Regions from separate parts of the Homo sapiens genome. Here region 2 is linked to region 1. The links are contacts of gene promoters, found by promoter capture Hi-C in human tissues and cell types (Jung and others, 2019). All regions are on one chromosome and are shown on one strand. The core of a region is centred on a gene start or on the middle of the fragment in contact, and the rest is flanking DNA. Distances in the headings are between cores, read along the strand shown.

The links. The method cuts DNA at HindIII sites, captures the fragments that hold promoters and counts their contacts. A contact is called where the count stands out against the background at its distance.
Region 2: a contact is called between a fragment that was not itself captured here and the fragment with the promoter of SLC25A2 in region 1, in 1 of the 25 tissues and cell types used here (hippocampus).

Annotation. Positions count from the first base shown.
Region 1 is chr5:141,301,950-141,307,819 of GRCh38, reverse strand. It overlaps SLC25A2 (solute carrier family 25 member 2), which reads left to right and starts at 3,771. Exons shown (of 1, transcript NM_031947.4): 1 at 3,771-5,185. The coding sequence starts at 3,955. The coding sequence ends at 4,860. The HindIII fragment of the contact is 6,230 bases long and covers 624-5,870 here.
Region 2 is chr5:141,576,505-141,582,374 of GRCh38, reverse strand. It overlaps DIAPH1 (diaphanous related formin 1), which reads left to right. Exons shown (of 28, transcript NM_005219.5): 7 at 1-63; 8 at 1,492-1,631; 9 at 3,179-3,287; 10 at 3,750-3,860; 11 at 4,032-4,150; 12 at 4,784-4,900; 13 at 5,504-5,619. Among named protein-coding and RNA genes, the nearest start is that of DIAPH1-AS1, 21 kb to the right of the region's middle. The HindIII fragment of the contact is 3,959 bases long and covers 2,008-5,870 here.

The sequences.
Region 1 (5,870 bases), core at 2,522-5,021:
ATGTGAAAGTCTGTATATTTACTCCAGGTGTGTCATCCCTCTTCCCCTCTCTTGTTCTCTTTAAATCAGTATCTAGGTTTATAACCTACCTCTCCCCCACCACACCCTGCACACACACAGTCAAAGCTCATAGAGCATTCTCTGAGGAAACTATGTGGTACCAGAGAAAAGAACTGCAACTGCTGACATTTGGGCATTTCCCAAAGAAAAGCCCAGATTACTATTTACTACAGTGAAGACTACCTGGTGACAAATTATCCATGCACAATTTGCTTTTTAGTACCTCATTAAAAAATTTTTTTTTAAATTTTCTCAGAGACCTTTGTTCTGAAGTACCTCACTTTTAATTGACAGCCAAGGATAATTAGACAAGGAAAGTTTTCTAAATGAAAGAGAATGCTTTCAGCATACTTTCTTCCCCCCAGATTTTGTTTTTACTACCCATGGCCGACGACGGCTTGGAATGTAAGCCTGGAGAGAATTCATTCCAATGCTGGGATTATAAATATCTGGGAGGAAGAAGTGTGTCCTGACAGTGGTATCCTCACTAATGTCCAAAAAACATCTTGCTTTGAAAGCTAGACATGTCATTTGTATCCCGAACTTCTACTTCTTTTTAAATTGAATTTCATTTTAGATTCAAGGAGTACATGTGCAGGTGTGTTACATGGGTATGTTGTGTAACGCTGAGGTTTGGGCTTCTAGTGAACCCGTCACCCACATAGTGAATGTAGTACCCAACAGGTAGGTTTTCAACCCTCAATCCCTCCCACCCTCCCCACTTTTGGATTCCCCAGTGTCTGTTATTCCCATCTTTATGTCTTTGTGTACCCATTGTTTAGCTCCCACTTATATAAGTGAGAACATGCAGTATTTGATTTTCTGGTTCTAAGATATTTCACCTAGAATAACAGCCCCCAGCTCCATCCATGTTGTGAGGGACATAATTTCATTCTTTTTTATGGCTGCATAGTATTCCGTGGTATACATATACCACATTTTCTTTATCCAATCAACTATTGATGAACACTTACATTGATTCTGTGACTTTCCTGTTGTGAATAGTGCTTCCATAAACATATGAGTGTAGATGTTTTCTGGTTTTTTTTTTGGAGACAGGGTCTTGTTTTGCCACCCAGGCTGGATCATAACTCACTGCAGCCTCCAACTCAGCTCAGTCAATCCTCCCATCTCCGCCTCCTGTGTAGCTGCCACTACAGGGGCATGCCATCATGCATGGCTACTTTTTGTATTTTTTTGTAGAGATGGCATTTTGCCATGTTGTCCAGGCTGGTCTGGAGCTCCTGGGCTCAAGCGATCTACCTGGCTTGGGCTCCCAAAATTCTGGGATTACAGGTGTAAGTCACTGTCCCCAGCACAGGTGTCTTTTTGATAAAATGATTTCTTTTCCTTTGGGTAGATACCTAATAGTGGGATTGCTGGGTTGAATGGGTGTTCTATTTTTAGTTCTTTGAGAAATCTCCATACTGCTTTCCATAGGGGTTGAACTATTTTACATTCCCACCAACAGTGTACAAACGACAAATTTCTACTTCTGCATGAGGCTGTGTGGGTCCTCAAAGAGAATCTCAAAACTTAGAAAGCATAGTGCTGAGCCACCCAGCTCTTTTCTATCAAGTTTCTTAGCAATGCAGTATATAAATACTATCCATTTTCCAAGTTGATTTTATAGTGCCGTGTTCTATCTTCAGAAATGATAAGGACTCCACGTTCCACCAGTTCCCAGGGCTGCAACCCCAGATCCTTGGGGATGTTGCCATGTGATAGCATTTCTCCAGCTCTGCAGGAAAGCAGTAGCACATCTCCAGGGCTAAGGATTCCCACAGTGCCCTACTCCCCTCCTTGCCCCCCAGGAAAGTGAGGAGCGTGGGCAGATCGCTGAGGGTTTTCTGATCAAAAGCAGTCACTGTCTCTCATGTAGCAACCCTCAGATCGTTTCGTTACCGGACAGGGGTCCCGATCCAGACCCAAGAGATTGTTCTTGGATCTCATGCAAGAAATAATTTGGGGCAAGTTCATAGAGTCAAGTGAAAGCAAGTTTATTAGAGAAGTAAAGAAGCAAAAGAATGGCTACTCCATAGGCACAGCAGTGGCCTGGGCGGCTTGACTAAGGATACTTACAGTTTTTTATTGAATGTAAGCTAAACAAGGGGTGGATTATTCATGAGGTTTCTGGGAAAGGGGTCCAAAGTTACCGGAACTGAGGATTCCTCCCCCTTTTTAGACCACATAGGGTCACTTCTTATTGTTGCCATGGCATCTGTAAGTGGACACGGCGCTGGTGGGCGTGTCTTTTAGCATGCTAATGCATTATAATTGGCGTATAATGAGCAGTAAGGACGACCAGAGGTCACTTATTATGCCATCTTGATTCTGGTGGGATTTGGCTGGCTTCTTTACTGAAACCTGTTTTATCAGCAAGGTCTTTGTGACCCGTATCTTGTGCCGGCCTCCTATCTCATCCTGTGACTTAGAATGCCTGTCTTCCTGGGAATGCAGTCCAGTAGGTCTCGGCCTTATTTTACTCAGTCCCTAGTCAAGATGGAGTTGCTGTGGTTCCAGCGCCTCTGACAGTTTGTCTTCTCTACTTTATTTTTTGTAGGGGGTAAGGGGTGTCTCATTTTGCTGCCCAAGCTAGCCTTGAACTCCTAGGCTCAAATGAGCCTCCCTCCGCAGCCTCTCCAAGTGTTGGGATTACAGGCATGAGCCACCACACCTGGCCTGTCTTATCTACTTTAAAGCAGTTTTCTTGTAGATTGACCCTCTGAATTCAGGGTCTATTCAAGTGAGGGCATCTTCTTTTCGGGTTGTTTGTTTTTGTTTTTTGCATGGTAAGAAGCGTGGGATAGGCCGGGTGTGGTGGTTCATGCTTGTAAGCCCCAACACTTTGGGAGGCCAGTGGGTGGATTGCTTGAGTTCAGGAGTTCGAGACTAGCCTGGGCAACATGGCGAAACCCCGTCTGTACAATACAAAATTTAGCCAGATGTGGTGGCTTGCGCCTGTAGTCCCTCTAGTCTCAGCTACTCAGGAGGCTGAGGTGAGAGGATCGCCTGAGGCCAGGAGATTGGGGCTGCAGTGAGCCAGGATCGCGCCACTGAACTCCAGCTTAGGCGGCCGAGTGAGACCCTAAGTCAAAAAAAAAAAAAAGAGAGAAAAGAAAAGAAGCAGGGCTGACTGATTAGGACAGCATTTCTTTTGCCGCCAGCTGAACTGCGGCGTCTAGAGTTCCCGGCCATAATTGCAAGAATTTATCGAAAAGCTTTACATGTTTTCTTGGTTTTGGTTTTGTTTTGAGACAGAGCCTCACCCTTTCGCCCACCCTGGAGTGCAGTGTGCGATCATAGCTCACTGCAGCATCGACCTCCCGGGTTCAAGCGATCCTCGCTTCATTCTCCTGAATTGCTGGGACCACAGGCGCGCGCCATCGCGCCCGGGTATTTTTTCGTTTTTGTAGAAATGGAGTCTTGCCATATTGCCCAGGCTGGTCTCGATCTCCTGGGCTCAAGCGATCCTCCCGCCTCGGCCTCCCAAAGTGCTGGGATACAGGAGTGAGCCACCGCGCCCAGTCGCAGTACACTAAAAGTATTTATTCGGTCCGCGTCCCCCGCCTGCGGGTGCAGGGATGGCGGCTCCAGGCTGGAGGCGGCTGGGGGCCCGGCCAGTGCGCCAGGAGCCGCAGGAACGCTAGTGAGCCGCGCGCTGGGCCGGCAGCTGGGGGTTATTTTAGTGCGCGGGGAGGGGGCGGCCCGCGGCGGAGCGTAGGGTTGAGCGGCTTCCCCCGCACTGGGGTGAGAGCCCAGAACAGGCGGTAGAGCCACCCCACCACCCCCAACTCCATTCCCCGCGCTCGCTGCGGCTGGACGTGAAAAGCCGGTCTCACGCTCTGGGGAGTTAGTCGCCTTCCACTGGGACCCTCAGACGAGTGAGCGAACATGAAGTCCGGTCCTGGCATCCAAGCCGCCATCGACCTCACAGCGGGGGCCGCAGGGGGGACAGCGTGTGTACTGACTGGGCAGCCCTTCGACACAATAAAAGTGAAGATGCAGACGTTCCCTGACCTGTACAAGGGCCTCACCGACTGCTTCCTGAAGACATACGCTCAAGTGGGTCTCCGGGGCTTCTACAAGGGCACCGGCCCGGCACTTATGGCCTACGTCGCCGAAAACTCGGTCCTCTTCATGTGCTACGGGTTCTGCCAGCAGTTTGTCAGGAAAGTGGCTGGAATGGACAAGCAGGCAAAGCTGAGTGATCTCCAGACTGCAGCCGCGGGGTCCTTCGCCTCTGCATTTGCTGCACTGGCTCTCTGCCCCACTGAGCTTGTGAAGTGCCGGCTACAGACCATGTATGAAATGGAGATGTCAGGGAAGATAGCAAAAAGCCATAATACAATTTGGTCTGTCGTGAAGGGTATCCTTAAAAAGGATGGCCCCTTGGGCTTCTACCATGGACTCTCGAGTACTCTACTTCAAGAAGTACCGGGTTATTTCTTTTTCTTTGGTGGCTATGAACTGAGCCGATCGTTTTTTGCGTCAGGGAGATCAAAAGATGAACTAGGCCCTGTCCATTTGATGTTAAGTGGTGGAGTTGCTGGAATTTGCCTGTGGCTTGTCGTGTTCCCAGTGGATTGTATTAAATCCAGAATTCAAGTTCTTTCCATGTATGGGAAACAGGCAGGATTTATTGGTACCCTCTTAAGTGTTGTGAGAAATGAAGGAATAGTAGCCTTATATTCTGGACTGAAAGCTACTATGATTCGAGCAATCCCTGCCAATGGGGCACTGTTTGTGGCCTACGAATACAGCAGGAAGATGATGATGAAACAGTTGGAAGCATACTGAAGTGTCTTGGTGAACCTGGATCCGAGTCCATGAGTTTGAGGACTACAGTTCATCACAGGGTTCAGCAGAGTACAAGACCACTGTCTAATTTTGACTTCATGGGAATTTTGGTTTTATCTTCCCTTCTTCTACCCTAAATCTTAACTTTATGGAAGGGCCTCTATTTTACATCATATAATTTCTGCCCATAATTGTATTGAAATAGGAAAGTTGCTGCTCTTGCACTTGCTGGAATGTACAGGGTGGGCTGGTTGGCCCTATGTACCTAATCTGAAAAACTAAATATCGTTCTGTCAGGGCCTTTGCATAAAGCCATTTGTGTGTACATGCAGTTTGGATGATTCTATGTCGTGAGTGAAACAATTTAGTTCTATATATAATCTCAAATATCAGCCCCCCAAACCCAGAATTGACCATATTTTGTGAAGATAGGTATGAATGATTACTTAGGATCACTCTCTCTTTTTTTCTTTTTTTTTGGAGACAGAGTCTCACTCTGTCGCCCAGGCTGGAGTGCTGTGGCATGATCTTGGCTCACTGCAACCTCTGCCTGCCTGGTTCAAGCGATTCTCCTGCCTCAGCCTCCCGAGTTGCTGGGATTACAGGTGCCCGCCACCATGCCCAGCTAATTTTTGTATTTTTAGTAGGGATGGGGTTTCACCATGTTAGCCAGGCTGGTCTCGAACTCCTGACCTCAGGTGATCCACCCAGCTCAGCCTCCCAAAGTGATGGGATTATAGGCATGAGACACCGCACCCGGCCAGGATCTCTTTTAAAGTCTGCTTAACATGCGCACTACATTAGGCGGTTCAAGTTTTGAAACATCTTCATGTGGTGCTTGATACCAAAATACTCCTCTCTCTCTCTCTCTCTCATATATATATATATATGAGAAAAAGTATATATATATATATACTTTTTTTTTTTGAGATGCAGTCTCACTCTTGTTGCCCAGGCTGGAGTGCAGTGGCACGATCTTGGCTCACTGCAACCTCCGCCTCCTGGGTTCA
Region 2 (5,870 bases), core at 2,738-5,237, 270 kb before region 1:
AGTTACGATAGCCGGAACAAGCATGAGATCATTCGCTGCTTGAAAGCTTTTATGAACAACAAGGTGAGATTTTTCCCATTCTCATTCCAAACCCCATCTGGACGCCTGTTCTTTCTCTTCTATTGGCAAACCAAAAGAGGAACTAGGAATATGAGGTTCAGGACTTCTAGCTTTCTCTTTTAGTATCATAACTGTTTTTCATTGCCACATATACATGCTTCTGTGGATATTTTTTTCTCAGTTCTAACTTCTGTTTCAGAGGACAGGCTCAATTTTGTTTCTCTCTCTTTTTTTTTTTTTTTTTTTTTTTTTTTTGAGATGGAGTCTCGCTCTGTTGCCCAGGCTGGAGTGCTGTGGCTCGATCTCGGCTCACTGCAAGCTCCACATCCTGGATTCATGCCATTCTCCTGCCTCAGCCTCCCGAGTAGCTGGGACTACAGGCACCCGCCACCACGCCCGGGTATTTTTTTTAATTTTTATTTTTAGTAGAGACGGGGTTTTACCATGTTAGCCAGGACGGTCTCGATCTCCTGACCTTGTGATCCACCCGCCTTGGCCTCCCAAAGTGCTGGGATTACAGGCATGAGCCACAGCGCCCGGCCTGTTTCTTTACTTTCTTTTGCTAATTCTTGAATTTCCTGACCTGTAGTTATTGTCTCTGCAATATTTGCTTTATTTCCTGTTTCTTTTTTCTTCTAGACTGTTGCTCCATTTTTATCTTCTTTTTGTCTGTTTAGTAATTCAACCTAGTGAGCCCACAGTCCTGTGCCTCTGAGGACAAATCTCTCTTCCTCATTGTTTAATTTTGTTATAATTAACTTATTCCATTGGATTGCGGGGAGAGAATTAACAAGAAACATATAAATCAAAGACTTTTATTCTTGGAAGACATCTAATTCTGTTGTGCCTCCTAGAAAATTATTTTGGTATGTTCATCTCTAATTATATTGGGAAAAGTATTCTACCCCTGTATTAATTTGCTAGTGTACCACAAAATTAGATATCTTAACAGAAATTTATTATCTCACAATTCTAGAGGCTAGAATTTCAAAATCCAAGGTACCAGCACGGTTGGTTCTTTCTGAAGCTGTATATGGTAATATGTTCCATATCCCTCCTAGTTTCTGGTAGCTTGTTGGCAATCCTTGGCACTCCTTATCTTGTAGATGCATCATCCTGATCTCTGCCTATGTGATCACATGGTGTTCTCCCTCTGTATGTATCCATATCCAAATTTCCTCTTTTTATAAGGACACTGGTCATATTGGATTAAGGACCCTTTCTACCCCAGCAGGACTTCATTGTAGCTTGACTAATTATATTTGCAATGAGTATATTTCCAGATGAGGTTACATTTTGAGGTACTGGGGGTTGGGACTTCAACACTGGAATTTAAGAGGACACCATTCAACCCATAACAACCCGTAAACTTGTCCCCCAGTTAGATGCTTTCGTCTTTCAGCCTCCTTTCTTTGTTCTTGGTCCTACCAGTTTGGAATCAAGACCATGTTGGAGACAGAAGAAGGAATCCTACTGCTGGTCAGAGCCATGGATCCTGCTGTTCCCAACATGATGATTGATGCAGCTAAGCTGCTTTCTGCTCTTTGTATTCTACCGCAGCCAGAGGACATGTATGTGACTGGAATAATTTTTCTTCTCCATTTTCAATTTTATCATTTTCTCTTAGTTCAGAGGACAATTGAGTTGGTTGGGTGTCCTCTCGGTCATAAATACTAGGTAAGATTGTGTTTCTTCCCAGAAGTGAACACTAAGCATCTTAAAATTTAAGAACAATTCCTAAGTGATGGGTGCTATCCTGAATGTTCCACTGGTCATCAGAGGTATAGCAAAATGTCTCCTATATCTCCATTAATATCTGTATTGTCTAGGATGAGGGTTTCTTTTTACTATTCTTTTTTTTTTTAATTCAGAAGTGGCACAATGTTATTTTTAAAACTCAAACGATATAGAAGTATATAAAGTAAAATTTAACTGCCTCATCCCTTTGCCAAATCCTATTCTGCAAAGAGAATGACTGTTAATGGCATGGTATAGTCTCATAGAACGTTTCCTAAGCATAGACAAACATATTGCGTTCCCTTGATTCTAGACATCTGCCACCGCAAAAGATAGTATCTTAAGAGCTGAGGAATGACACTTATGCCTATAAAACTAACTGCATATATAGGATAGATTTTTATTATTGAAGAGGGATTTGGTTTAACCAAAGCTAAATCATTCTTTTCAACCTGTTTCTTTTTAATAGTAGATCTTGGACATTTCTTCTATGTCGGTACTTACAGATCTACCTTATTATCTTTAGTAGCTATTTAGTATTCCATATACATGTATGTATGGCCTATAATTTATTTAACAATTCCCCTGTTGCTGGACTTACAGATTTTTTTTTTTTCCTTTTTTTTTTTTGAGACGGAGGCTCGCTCTGTTCCCCAGGCTGGAGTGCAGTGGCGCGATCTCGGCCCACTGCAAACTCCTCCTCCCAGGTTCAAGCGATTCTCCTTCCTCAGCCTCCCGAGTAGCTGGGACTACAGGAGTCCGCCACCACGCCTGGCTAATTTTTGTATTTTTAGTAGAGATGGGGTTTCTCCCTATTGGCCAGGCTGGTCTCGAACTCCTGACCTTGTGATCCGCCCGCCTCGGCCTCCCAAAGTGCTAGGATTACAAGCGTGAGCCACTGCGCCCAGCCAACTTACAGATATTTTTTAAAGCAGATTTCACTATCTGTTCTAGGTGATCATTTTTACAAATGATACTGCAGTGAACATCCTTGTGCATATCTTCTTTCACATTTATGCCCATATGTTGGATACATTTCTAGAAGTAGACTATATGTTACATGCATGAGAAATTGATTAGTACTGTTAAATGCCCCTCCAAAAGTTGTATCAATTTATACTTCATTGAATAGGGGACTTGATTTGGTATTTATGGACAGGAGCCTAGGGATGGATTGTAGGGAATGCATTTCCCTGAAGAGATGGTCCTTAGCTTTCAGCAGTTTCTGGAAACTGAGTGGTGAGAATAATAATGTGAGAAATCCGGAACACTGATAATGTCCTGTTTCCTAATCGGTCTGTGCCCCTGTGTAATTTACTCATTATACGTGTCCGTGTCACAGTACCTGGAAAGTTCTCTCCGTTTCCTTTCTCTTGGGCAGGAATGAAAGGGTTTTGGAGGCAATGACAGAAAGAGCTGAGATGGATGAAGTGGAACGTTTCCAGCCGCTGCTGGATGGATTAAAAAGTGGAACCACTATTGCACTGAAGGCATGTATATCCCCTGAAACTGGGCCCAAGAATAGAATTCAAGATGGACAGACTTAAATTCATTTGACCTTTTAATAAAATACATGGAGTGCCTCCCAACTATATATTTTACATTTCAGAATCTGTTATGAAGGGAAAATGATTAACCTTCTTTCTAAGAAGGTAAAGAATGAACTGTTTTCCTCATTATGAGATGGAAAAAGGCATGATATCTATTTACAATCTAGGAAAACCAAGACCTACAATAACATATACTCTCAAATCCTTGAAACCATTTAGAGTTTAGGCTCTCCGGATCTGTACTCAAACCAGGTCTCATTGCTATAGTAGAAAAGTCATCTTTAGAGTTTTTGTATTGTATCTTTCAGGTTGTATTGGGGACCTAAGAATGCATGTAAAGAAAATGGATTCTTGATCTCCAGGAGTTAGCATTGACATAGCTGCTGAATTTTCTTATTTTAGGTTGGATGCCTACAGCTGATCAATGCTCTCATCACACCAGCGGAGGAACTTGACTTCCGAGTTCACATCAGAAGTGAACTGATGCGTTTGGGGCTACATCAGGTGTTGCAGGTAAGATATTACACTTCATTAGAAAGGCTAGACTGGTTCCTTCTTGCTCTACAGCCCCAATAATCCCGGGGATAATTCTGGTTTTCAATTAAAAACCAGGTTGAAAAGCTTAGGTTTCTAACCACAGAGGATACTTTTGGGTTCCCTGACTTCTACTTTTGTTGTTGACAGGACCTTCGAGAGATTGAAAATGAAGATATGAGAGTGCAACTAAATGTGTTTGATGAACAAGGGGAAGAGGATTCCTATGACCTGAAGGGACGGCTGGATGACATTCGCATGGAGATGGAATATCCTTTTGCTGACTAGGTTCAAGGCAGATGAGACATTCATTGTATTTAGTTCCCTGATCCCTGTGTGGAATGGTTTGGGAGATGATGACTCAGAACAGAGCATCAGGCTTATGTGTCTTCTCATTAAATAAGGCAGGTGTATTTTTATTGCGCTGGCTTTACTTAGCTTATCATAGATCAGGGAAGTCAGTAAAGGTGATCTGAGGGTTGTTGAGCATGGAAGCCATCAAAATCAGTGTAAACTTCCTAGAATGTGATAGCTTAGCTTACTAAGATGTAGAACTGGCTTTTAGAGATGTTTGGACTGACAGAGGGAGTAATTTAGTTACCTGTTAATATTTTCAGTAAGTGACTTTGAGGCAGTTACCTCTTATTTTCTGTCTACTGCCTGATCTTCAAGCCAAGTACTTACTAGGAATCCTCTGTGTGTATAGTACCACCCAATTCACTGGTCCCTTAAAGGACGTTTTAGAAAGCTTAAAGTTTCTGGTGATGTTTACAGGAAGAACAGCCAGTAGAATGGAAGTGGTGTCTTGCTACTTTTCCCTAGCTTTTTCAAGAGTTAAATAAGCCACCTGTCAAACATAATTTCTGCATATTTGCTTTCCTTAGCCTATTTCCCTTTTCCACTGACTTTAATGAAGTCTTTCAGATTCTCTTAAACACAGTGAAGGATTCAAAGGCAGAGCCACACTTCCTTTCCATCCTGCAGCACTTACTCTTGGTCCGAAATGACTATGAGGCCAGGTAAGATGCTGTGCTTATGAGAAGTTTTGAATTTGAGCCTAAGTGGAGAGAGTGAATTCCTTAAATTCAAAGATTGTTCTGTAAAAGGAAAATGTAAAGACAAAGACCCAAGATTAGGGTTCATTAGTCACCGATATAAAGGAAGTTGTCTTATTTCTTTAATCCAACTCAAAGGCATCCCTATGGCAGAGGTCAGAGTGTATAAGGTGAAATGCCGTTCTGTTTTTGGAGGGGAGTAGGTAAATAGGATGAAGATGTTAGCAAACAGAAGTGGCAATTTAAAATTCTTTCTAGTTTCCTGGAAGTATAGATTTAGCAATAGCACTATCCATCACAGGAAGGATCAAACGCAAATTTTTAGATGGGAAAGTATTGGCACTAGGAGCGGATGGCAAGAAGTTTTGATTATTTGAAGTAGATAGGGTAGGGTAGCTGATGTGGAAAAAGGAGTTTTCTTAGCATGGCAGCAATACTTGTGTTAACTTTACAAAAGTTTTTCCAGGTCTCTCAGTTGTCAGAGCAATTACGTTTTCTTGGTCCTGAATACTTCTGAAAATTATATTTTGATTTTCCTTTGATGACCCTGTTTTTATTCTCTTGTAGACCTCAGTACTATAAGTTGATTGAAGAATGTATTTCCCAGATAGTTCTGCACAAGAACGGGGCTGATCCTGACTTCAAGTGCCGGCACCTCCAGATTGAGATTGAGGGATTAATTGGTAAGCATACTCTTCTATCTGGCTCCTCCAAGTATTGCTTCTTCCTTTCATTTTGCATCTTGTTTCAGTGAAAATGTCAGAGAAGATACCTTTCCAGTCCCCAGATAGTTCTATTTTTGTCCTTTCTTAGGTCATAACCAGCATCTTTGCTAGGAATCTATAGGTCTTTAGTTTATTTTTAGATAAAACACACACCAGCACCTTTTGCAGGAACTCCTGGTGGTCTCAGAGAGTCAAAAATATCACTCATA